Linked DNA regions of Homo sapiens: region 2 is linked to region 1. The links are contacts of gene promoters, found by promoter capture Hi-C in blood cells and fetal thymus (Javierre and others, 2016). All regions are on one chromosome and are shown on one strand. Each heading gives the region's core, a stretch centred on a gene start or on the middle of the fragment in contact. The rest is flanking DNA. Distances are from core to core; before and after follow the strand shown.

Region 1 (5,594 bases), core at 1,132-3,631:
CCCATTTATCTACCCTCCCTACCTCATAGAATTGTCTTAAGAGTCATACGAAACAATACACGTGAAAGATCTTTGCTACCTGAATCACTGCAAACCCCCTTGTGTCACGGTATTTTAGAGTAAAAGGAGTTTTTCTGACTCTCAATTACTGATAGCTTATCGAGTTGTTAAACTTCAAAGACAGAACTACAGTTTCTAGAACTGCTCTGTCTGTCTATAAGAACTTTGTGCCATAACAAAGATGTTCTACACATACTTGCAATGTCCAATACAGTAGCCACTAGCCACATGTGGCTACTGAGAACTCGAAATGTGGCTAGTGTAACTACGAGATTGAATCTTTAATTTTATTTACCTTTAATTATGTTAAACTTCAATAGCCACATGTGATTAGTAGTTACGGTAGTTACAGCACAAGTCTCATTAACACAGTAAGAACTGGAAAATCCAGTTGTAGCTCCAAAGTCTGTAAGAGGAATGATAAGACCATGAATAGAAATTGTGCCAATAAAGAGGGCAGCAGGATTATGAGGAAATAGACGTGCTCCCCTTTAAAACAACCTGACATATCCAAATCCAAAAAACAAATCTGAGAAAGATAACTCCCAATTACTACAAAAACATTCATGTTCCCTTATACCAGTTACACAAGCATGTTCAATATCTGTCCCAATTGATTCAGTTGTCCAAAACTCATCCATTGTATAACAGAAAGCAAGGTACCCACACTGGTCAAAGACAGGGGGGGAAGTGCAGAGGAAACAGGAACAAATAAATCTGGCTTGCCTTCTCCCTGATTTCCCCCAAAGTTCACACAACAAAAATGTATGGAGCACCCACTAGATAACGGGATTAGTGGGGAAAAGATGACTGAAAGTCTTAGACCCTGCTCTCAGAGACCTCAAAAAGAAACTAGACAAAGCAGCGTACAAATCCAACACACTCTCCCTCTAGTTCTCGATTCCTGCTACCCTACATCATGCGGTCAAAGAGCTGTCGAGAGATCTGCATTATATAAATCGCCACCATGTTGGTAAAAATTATGTGTAAATTGTATCTCTAGTATATCTAAGGAGTGTCTTTGAAAAACAAATATGCCCAAGAACCTAAAACTTCAACACATTTGGGATAAATTGTCACATTTCTTTCAATATTTAATACAAAACTCTCTTAACATTGTGAACCTAAGAAGCTGCTGCTGCTGCTGCTGCTGCTGCTGCTGCTGCTACCAAGTGGCATCTACTGAGCCCTCATTACGTGCTAGGCACAAGACTACCTGTATCGCTGTATTAACTCATTGATTCTTCAATTAACCATAGGAGGTCTACACTGTTATTATATCCAACTTGCAAATGGAGAAACTGGGTTCCTAAGGACTGACCAAGTTAGGCACGTCAGACAATCAGTGCCAAAGCCAAGTTTCAAGTCCCGGCAGATTACTTCAACGCAGGGGCTTTCAACACTTGAGCAACTAGCAAAGGGCCTACAGGGCAGCAGAGGGTATGGGCTGGGTGTATTCTACCTGGACACCCCCTGACAAAGACCTGGGACCTGGGTGTCCTCTCAAAGCAGGGCAAGGCCCTGAAAAAAACAGCTGGCAGGTGTGTCAGGCCAGGACAGCAGGAGGGAAGCCTGTCGCGAAGGTCACTGCCAGTTTCGGGCAGAGCAAAGGTCAGATCCCAGACAAATCACACGGAGAACAAGCAGCAGCAAAGTCCCGGCTTTCCTCAGGGCACGGGAAGCGCTGGGAAAGGGAGCTGGGCGTCCAGGGTCCCCGATTCCCGCCGGGAGTGGGTGATGCGGAAAGGAACTCTGCGGTGCGACGGAAGGGAGGCAGCGACGCCACCGAGCAGCGAGACGGAGCCGCGAGAGCACCCCAGAAGAGGGGGGCGAGAGGCAGGCCTCCGGGGTGTGGGCCCGGCGCGCAGAAGGCACTGGAACCAGAGACTCGGCCCAGAGAGCCAGGCGCCACCCACCGGGGACCCCGGCCCGCGCCGGCGATCGCGCCCGCACGGCGCCCTACCTGCTCCGGGCCCGCGCCGACACGCTCAGCGACCGGCTCGCCTCCGCGCTCCCGCCCGGCCCCCGGTTCCTCAGCAGGCCGCTGGATCCAGCGCGGGACCCAGCGTGGTGCAGCCACCGGCCGGCCGGGCCGCCGAGGACAGCAGAAGCGGCGCGCAGCAGCCGGGCGCCCCCAGCGGCAGCCATCGCCCGCGGTCGGGAACTGCCGGAAGCGACGCAGGCCGCGCTTTGAGGCCGCGAGAGACTCCAAAGAGGCGGGGGCGGCAGCTGCGGCGCAGACGCCCGAGGGCCGCGGCGAGGGGCGCGGGGCTGGAGTGGCGGAGAGACCCTGCTGGAAGCACCGCGCCGAGGTTCCGCGTGCCTTCCGGGTGACCTATAAAGACATTGGCAAGCAGAGCGCGGCCCCGCCCCGCCTCTCACGCCCACGCCGCCCGGTCCCATGGGGCGGGGCCAGCGCAGGGGGCCTTTACCAACCCTCCAGGTTCCGTTGTAAGCTGGATGCTTTTTTAGCGGCTGAAGTTGCCGTGCAGAAACAAAATATTTTGAAAGATAGCTGGACGTCTAGCGGAAATCGGTTAGCTAGACCACTGTGTTCTGTTCCGCATACCCCCATCCCCTAGCCGTTAAAAAAAAAACTGGGAAATTGTGTCATCTTGGAGTCAAGTTAGAGCAAAGTGAATTCTGCCCACTGTAAAACAAAAACAGTGGGAAATTTTGGAAAATCTCAGAATGCTATTATACAAAGAAATAATTATGACTATAAAATTGTAAATGAAATTAATGAATAGGCTTGGGGCTCCTGCAGAGGACAGGTAGCCATCCTAGACCTTGACTGGCAAGTAAATGCTGGCTGAGTACATGAAACCCACGAGACTGAACCGGAAACTTTGTGATGAGCTGAGATCTCTAAAAGACTTTCACAAAAAACAGAAAAGATGAACTTTAAAATACACCTTATCATGGTTCATATGTTGTGGGAAATGCATGGGCTTTAAGGTCAGAAATAGCAATGTTCAGATCCAAGATCTACTGCTTTAGAGATCTGAGACCTTGGAAAAATTATTCTCATGGAGGATCAGAGTTTCCATAACTCTCAAACACAGATAAGATGTTCCAGCCTTCAGGGCCATTCTGATGTTAATCTAATACGCAATGCACACCGTGCGTCACAAACCAGGAAGGCTACCGCTTCCTGGGCCTTCCTCCATCAGGGTACTCATAAAGAGGCTAAAGGCCAAAGTCAAGGGGATATTGCAGATATGCTAAACACAATCAGATACTTTTTTTTTCTTTTTTTGACATGGGGTCTCTCTATTCTGCCCAGGCTGTAGTGCAGTGGCGAAATCTCGGCTCACTGCAACCTCCGCCTCCCAGGTTCAAGTGATTCTCCTGCCTCAGCCTCCCGAGTAGCTAGGACTACAGGCGTGTGCCACCACACGCCACTAATTTTTGAAGATTCAGAACAAGAAAGTGTAAGCATGAGTAAAGTATCTGCGGACAATGTATGGTGCTTTCTGGAACCCAATGGCAGAGAGAAGGCAGTGGCTCCTAATTGCCTCAAATCGTTGGATGAAGAGAAAGTCTTTCAAGCTGCGAAGGGCACAGCAAACCCTGACAAGTAATCTTGAAGAGGAGGTTGTAAAAGAACAGCTAACTTTTGTTTTTAGTAAGACCAAACTTCCAAGGTCGGATGAATTAGTTGTAGGAAGAGAATTGAAAAGAAAAAAAATCGTAGATGTTCTGTCTTCTCTCAGCCCTCCTGTAGCAAATACAGTTTCAACTCCCTTAAGGCACTTGATAGCTTTCTGCTTTGTAGGGTAGTTATTCGTACACATAGAGTAGTTATTTATATAGTTCATCTTAGTGACTCCGACAGCACCAGCTACAGGGTCTTGAACATATCAAGGGTCTAATAAATATTGGTGAATAAATTGATGTTATGAAATTTCCATTAATAATCATCAGAATTCATTAAGCATGTATATGAAGATTAAAGATAGAAAAAATGTTCTCCAGGTTTTCTAAGGTGGATGAGAAGTAATGCCAAAAATTGCAAATATCAGTAGTCAGCAGAATTCCAGAATGGATTTGTAAACATGATCATGAATACAGATAAAGCAACATGGAATTACTGAGGACGTGCTTTTGCTTATCTGTTTGCTTATGTATTTCTTTGTCTATAAAACTCCCACCCCTCCATCCCTTTTTTTTTCTTTTTTTCCTTAGAGATGGGGTTTTGCCATGTTGCCCAGGCTAGTCTGGAACTCCTGAGCTCAAGCAATCTGCCCACCTCAGCCTTCCAAAGTGCCGGGACTACAGGCATGAGCCACCATGCCCAGCCCATCTTTTACTCCTTTCAAAATCCATTCATTGTTTGAAGACTTTTGTCTTATTCTGTTTATGATGCTATAACAGAATAACACACAGACTGGGTAATGTGTAAAGAACAGGAATTTATTTTCTCACAGTTCTGGATACTGGGTCGCCCAGGTGCCAACTGGTTTAATGTCTGATAGAGAGGCCCAGTCTCTGCTTCCAAGATGGTGTCCTGTTGCTGTGTCCTCACATGCTGCAAGAAGGGCAAACATGCCAATTTCCTCCAACCCTTTTATAAAGGTGTCAATCGAGAAAAATGATGAGACAATTCTCAATCATTTTAGGAGATTGATTTGCCAAAGTTAAGGATGCACGCCCAGGAGACAGTTCTATGCCTTTCTCTGAAGATGATTTTGAAGGCTCCAAATTTAAAGGGGAAAAGGTGGGATATTGAGAAGTACATAATTTTCATGTATGGCGGGATAAGGAAAAATAGTCATTCATACCCTTGTCTAGCTCAGTGCATCTGCTTTTTTTTATATATAAGATGACAGAGACAAATGGAGCAGAGGAAAAATGCAGGAAATCTACATTTTTACGTAAGATAGCATAGGCAAAATGGGGCAGGGGAACAATGAGATATTCATTTGTGTTTGGTGGGCAGCAGGGTGACTGCATCTGTAAAGATAATCTATCCATTTACATTGCCATGGTGAAATTTTAACAGAAATACCTTAAAAGATCTTGCAGCTCACTAGGAATTTCTTTGTGGGCAAAATATGGAGGAGACATGTAGCTTTTCATCTTGTAGCCATCTTATTTACAAACCAAAAGGGGGACGCAGATTTGCATGACCCAGTTCCTAGCTTAACTTTTCCCTTTGGCTTAATGAGTTTGGGGTCTCAAGATTTAATTTCCTTTCACATTTTCCCTTCTTTTTCTTTAAAATCTTTTGGAGAAAGCATTTTAGAAGGAATACAGCTTTCTGGCCTAGGGTTGTTTTTTCTTCCTTTTCTTTTGAGCTGGTTTCTCCTCACTAGGTTGGTTAACTCCTAGAAGTTCAGGTCCCACGTTGCTATGAAGGCTCATTCCTAAGACATTATGTCCCATGAAGATAAAAAAAAATGGGAAAAAAGAAGGAAAAGAAAAAAAAATACACACACACACACATATATATGTATATATATATGGACCTAGGCCAGATGTATAGCAACAAATAGGAAGCAAACCTGGAAGGTGGGTCAGGTTATATTACT
Region 2 (5,470 bases), core at 656-3,155, 1.0 Mb before region 1:
ACAGCTGTGCACCACCATGCCTGGCTAATTTTTTGTATTTTTATAGAAATGGGGTTTCACCATGTTGGCCAGGCTGGTCTCAAACTCCTGACCTCAAGTGATCCACCTGCCTCGACCTCCCAAATTGCTGGGATTACAGACGTGAGCCACCGCACCTGATCTCATCTCGTATATTTCCTGTCCCCGTCCTAGAATTGGCCATATCCCCAAGGAGTTCTGGTTCCTTTTTATTGGAGAATGTTATTAGAAACCAAAGTCTGGGTGTTAGCTATGCTCTGGTCTCTTATGTTCAACTCACTTTTCTTTCTTTTTTTGTTTTTTGAGATGGAGTCTTGCTCTGTCACCCAGGCTGGAGTACACTGGTGCGATCTCGGCTCACTGCAACCTCCTCCTCCCGGGTTCAAGTGATTCTCATGCTTCAGCCTCCTGAGTAGCTGGGATTATAGGCATGCACCACCATGCCTGGCTAATTTTTGTATTTTTAGTAGAGATGGGGTTTCACCATGTTGGCCAGACTAGTCTTGAACTCCTTACCTCAAGTGATCTGCCTGCCTCAGCCTCTCAAGGTGCTGGGATTACAGGCGTGAGCCACCATGCCCGGCCCAACTCGCTTTGCTTTTCCCTTTCTGTTAATGCTTCTGTCCCCTGCCCGTCAACCATGGGGGTTTCCCAGGATTAGTCACACATTCAAGTCAATAACAAGGAGTTCTTACCCTGTACAAGAACTTCATGAGATCAAAAGCGAGGCACAGTCACGGAGTTTATAGTCAGGCGTGGGAGAGGCATGGATATATTATAAACAGCCCAAGAGCAGACAAGGACAGAGAAGTCAATCCGTAAGGCATCTCTAAGGAACTCATGACTAATTCAGACTGTGGGATCTGGGAAGTCTCTGAGCTGAGAGTTGAAAGAAGAAGGGTGGTGTATTCTCTGTGGTCTGTTCCCAAGCCCATAAAATCTCCCTTGACTCTGGTGCTCAAGGAGCCATCTCTCTCTCGGAGGAGCCGCTGCTGATGCTCTAGTTTGCTTCTCTCTTCCTTCTCAATACTCCTTCCTTCCTGTGGGAACATGAGCAGACCCTGTTCTCTCCCCTACTCCCCAGAGCCCTGAGATATTACATTATGAGATTTTCTTTGCTAATATTTTATTTCTTAAGTTAGGTTGTGGGTACATGGGTGTTTATTATTGTATTCTTCATTCCTTTTTGTATGGCTTGCATATTTCATAATAACATTTGAAATGTATTTGTGAAAAAAAAAAAAAAGAAAAGAGAGCGGTCTCTGGCCCTGGCCTGTGTGACCTTGTGCCCTCACTCCAGGAACCAAGACTCTGCCAGATGACTGCCACTCCCAGCCTAAGCCTGGGAAAGTGCAGCTGGTCTGGGCCAGATGGGTCTGCGGGTGCCTGTCTGACCAGGTATTGCATACATGTTGATGTGACTCAGTACCTAAGTGGTGTGGCAGATAGTCACCTATCCCCTCCTCACTCTCCTTGTCCCCTCATCTCCATGACCCACCTCTGACTTCTGTAGAGTCTCAGAGCTGCAACATAGTGACAACCCTTCTCTACAGCAGGTGCTTGTTGCTGGTGCCATTCTGCAAGGGCTGGATGGGACAAGTCTGGGGCATTCCCCCTGTCTTGGGGCAGCATCTTCGCCTCAGCACTGACCTGACTCAAGCTTCCTTATCTCCCATCTAAAGCTATCTGTGAACAAAAATCTGAAAAGGGCAGATCTAGGTCTGGCAGCAACTGAGAAAAACCAAAGTTCCTGCCAACAGCCAAGGTAGGTAAGAGGCAGGCCAAACGGGGTCAAATGGGGACACCGCCCAGGGGTAGGATGTTGGTTTGAGTCTCTGGGGAAAGAATGGAAAGGATGTCAGCTCCTAGTACATGCAGGCTGGTAACTGTGATGTTCTATTTGCAAGGATAGGTTATTTAGACATTGGGACCAGGAAACTCTGTCTCTGAACTAGTTACAGGGGCTGGTGGCTTCTGAAAAGACCTCTTTAGCTGGTGTGACAGATTAAAGATGTTGCAATTTCTTTTCTTTTGAATCTGCTTGACTAATAGAATGTAGCAGAAGTGAGATTCTGGGATTTTAGAGCCTAGGTCATGTGAAGGCTTGAAGCTTCTGCAGAGTTCTTTTGGGACACTCTCTCTGGGAGCCTTGATCTGCTAGGCTGGAGAGGCCATGTGCAGGCCCTTTGCTCAACAGTCCCAGCTGAGCCAAGCCTTTTAGCCATACTCACTAAGTCACCAGCCATGAAAATGAAACCATCTTAGATCCCAGATCACAGAGTAACCCCAGCCAATGCCAACAGAGCAGACTTACCCAGCTGAGCCCTGAACAGGTTTCTGAACTACAGCACTGTGAGATAAAATAAAACAACCGTTGTCTTAGGCTGCTAAGTTTTGAGATTGTTTGCTACACAAAAACAGATAACCAAGATGGCTGGGGCACCCCTATTCAGGCCACCAGTTCAATGACCAACTTCCAATTCCCGCATCAATATGAGAGATGGAGGATCATGGCTCATTCTCAAAATGACCGGGCGGAGGAGCTGGAGCCAAAACGTAAAGTGCTGAGCATGTCTTTGAAAGGGTCTTCTAGAGGCTCTTTGCTTGGGATGGCTCTATGACTCCTATAGGTGAAGTGCTGAAGTAAATAGGAAAACTGACCTAGGAATGGCCTCCAGATGATGAGGCAAAGTGTGCAGAAACTGAGAGGGGGTGTGAGTCTGGGAGGGGAAGTACGAGGGGGCTGGACGGCATCTGGAAGAGGAAGGTCCTGAGAGACACATAGGAGGGAGCTGGGTTCTGGGAGGAGGACTTGGGGATGAATGTTTCTGTAAGGGAAGTAGAGGGCGGTGGGGGGCACCGAGAGTACAGGCAGCCTTGAGCTGGTGTCTGGCCAAGGGTTGTAGCAGTCCTTGGGCTGGTGTCTTCTCCTGCTCCATCTGCGGCTGTGCTGGGCTCTCTTTAAAGAGCCCTTCTGGGCATCCAGATGAGCTCACACAAACAGTGCAGGTGCAGGTCTGGCCCGTAAACCACAACAACTGGGGCCTGTGCTGCCACAATGCGCTGGGCAAAGCCTCCAGAGGGGGAGAAAGGGTGACTATTTGTTTAGCATCATCAGCAAGAGTTCCAGAACCCATCAAAAGCAAAGCAGAAACTTTTGTATTAAGGAGATTAAACTTTAAACTCAGCTGAGAAGGCTCTGCTGTTTGAGTGGCTTTGTTGTGCCTGGCATTGTGTGATTATATGCAAATCACCAGGAAGCCTCCCTGGGGTCCCAACCGCAGAGGCTTAGCTGCCCAGCGGGTGGGTGTGCGGGACAGGGGGCAGCCCACGTGCTAGTCAGGTAACACCCAGTACCCAGGCCGGGGCAGCCTGCTTTCCCTTAAGTTCAGGGAATTGGGGATTTGAAAATATGTTTAATGTGTTGGCCAGAGATTTCTGGTGGATGGATAGGACAGCAGGGACAGAGGTGCCACCGGGAAGGTATAAATGGAAACCTAAGACAGTGTCCAGTTAGGACGGGGGAGGTTCACATATCCAGGGACCCCCTGACCACATCACGCCTTCTTTAGCATCCTCTCTTTTGAAGCTTAGGGTAATGTATGGGGTCACCAAGGAGATGAGGAAATGTTTTGGTTTTCCTGTGGCCATTCAGAATAAGGACTTGGGAGGATTATCCTGAGTTTATTGATCCAGAAAATGTTTAATGTTTACTCTTGGCAAGGTGCAGAGCTAGGTGCTGGCGGTGGTGGGTGAGAATGGAGATGAATAAAATGTCTCTGTTGTTGAGGAGTTTACAGAGAAGATGTTTACCCAGATAACTAAAATACCTGGCAACATTTGGTAAGCGCTGGGGGAAATGGCCCATGAGAGTGCCTGGCTTTGGACAGAGGCTAACTGAAGGGGTCGAGGAAGGTTTCACAGAGAAAGAACAGAGTCAGGCCAGAGGTGGAGGCTGCATGAGCCAAGGAATTCCTGTTGAGAAGGGCAGGGTGCAGGCTGGCTGTGTGCCCTGGCTCACATGGTGTCTCAGGGGCTGTGGGGAAGACAGATTGTGCATATTGGGGCCCAAGTTCCAGGCTAGAATTTGGCCCACACAAATTGGAGTCAGATGTCTAACCCACAAAGTTAGGTCTAGGGACTCTGGGACCCCGTGTCAGCACTTGCAGAACTGCCATCAGGGTGACACCAGAGACCTCTGTGTCCCGTCTGTTGATGCCTCTGTGGCTGCCCTGGCAGCCCCCTTCCCCTCTTCCTTTAAGCAGCATCTACAACTGCTTCTCAGCCCTTAATAACAGGGTCAGCTTGGACATCTCCAAGGCTCTACTTCCTGGTGGGTGTAGAATGTTGTCTAGTATAGTCAGAGTCATAGCTGTCAGTTCCCCTCTGCTTGGGGGGCTATGGGCCTGGCTGGGGTCCTGCAGATCTGGGTTGAGGATGAGAGTGGAATGAGCTTGGTCCTTGGGCTATTAGACATGTTGAGGATAGAGATCATTAAAGATATGACCAGGGCTGAAAAGAAAACCCAGGAAGGCTGAGTAGCTAAGCTATCAACACGAGAAACTGGGCAGAGTAGCAGAAGCAAGTAAGAGACCCCAGGATGGAAACTGCAGAGTGTCGCCTAGGAGTGGAGGGAAGAGCCTGCTCCTGAGCTGCTGGGTAGTGGTGGGGATGCAATGGGGATACAGGTGGGGGTCTAGGCACTCGCTGTTGTAGCTCTAGCCTCAGGCAAGGCGGTGAGGATGCTCAGAGGCTCTCCGGCCCCTCCAGCCTTCAGTGGCTGGTTCACTGGCATTGGCCTAACCTTCTTGCAGAGGGAGCCACACCAGTCCTCAAGTTGAGCACAGCTCTTGGGCCCAGATTGGAGCATGGTGATTTGGGAATGAGAAACAATAGCTTTAGAAATTGAGAAACTCCATCCCTTTCCAGCATCCCCCTCATCCCCCAACCCAGTTCCTGGCAGGAGTCCCTGGACTCATCTGGGGTTTTTCAGGGGTGGTAAAAACTGAGGGTCATTTTTGCTGAGGAGTTCTGAGCACTGGAGGAGGAGAATGATCTCCTCCATTCCACAGATCAATACACTCCTCCCGTTTTGCAGGAAGCTTCTGGGAGCAGGGGGTCTCTGGGCTCTGAGGGGGTGTAGTGGATGGAAGCCAAAGAAAAAATTGCTCTTTGGAACACCGTGTCCTGTGCCCTGTCAGAGGAGCAGATGTTCTTCTGAGGGTGGGGGCTGCTGGGGGCTGCAGCAGGTTGGGAGCCAGGCAGGAAGAGTTCCAGATGATGAGGGAGTTGAAAGGAATTTTATAAAGATATTGTCTGCGACTTGGGTTGGATAAAAGTCTCCGCAGACAGGGCTGTTCACCTGCTAGGCTTTTGTTCTGCCCTGCAGCGTCTGCTTGCCACACAGCCCCAGGGCAGGGTGATGGTGGGGCGGGGTGATGGTGGGGAGGGC

What was found. Contacts are between HindIII fragments. The CHiCAGO score rates a contact against its expected background, and 5 or more counts as called.
Region 2: a contact is called between a fragment that was not itself captured here and the fragment with the promoter of FDX1 in region 1, in 4 of 17 cell types (naive B cells, total B cells, total CD4 T cells and 1 more). The highest score is 12.0, in naive B cells.

What each region holds. Positions count from the first base shown.
Region 1 is chr11:110,426,735-110,432,328 of GRCh38, reverse strand. FDX1 (ferredoxin 1) reads right to left here and starts at 2,381. Exons shown (of 4, transcript NM_004109.5): 1 at 2,024-2,381. The coding sequence starts at 2,208. RefSeq lists an enhancer at 1,568-1,847 and a silencer at 1,918-2,567. The HindIII fragment of the contact is 8,631 bases long and covers 1-5,594 here.
Region 2 is chr11:111,436,910-111,442,379 of GRCh38, reverse strand. It overlaps a transcript of BTG4 not described here. Among named protein-coding and RNA genes, the nearest start is that of POU2AF1, 60 kb to the right of the region's middle. RefSeq lists enhancers at 460-1,659, 2,496-3,082 and silencers at 2,991-3,060, 3,081-3,130. The HindIII fragment of the contact is 450 bases long and covers 1,681-2,130 here.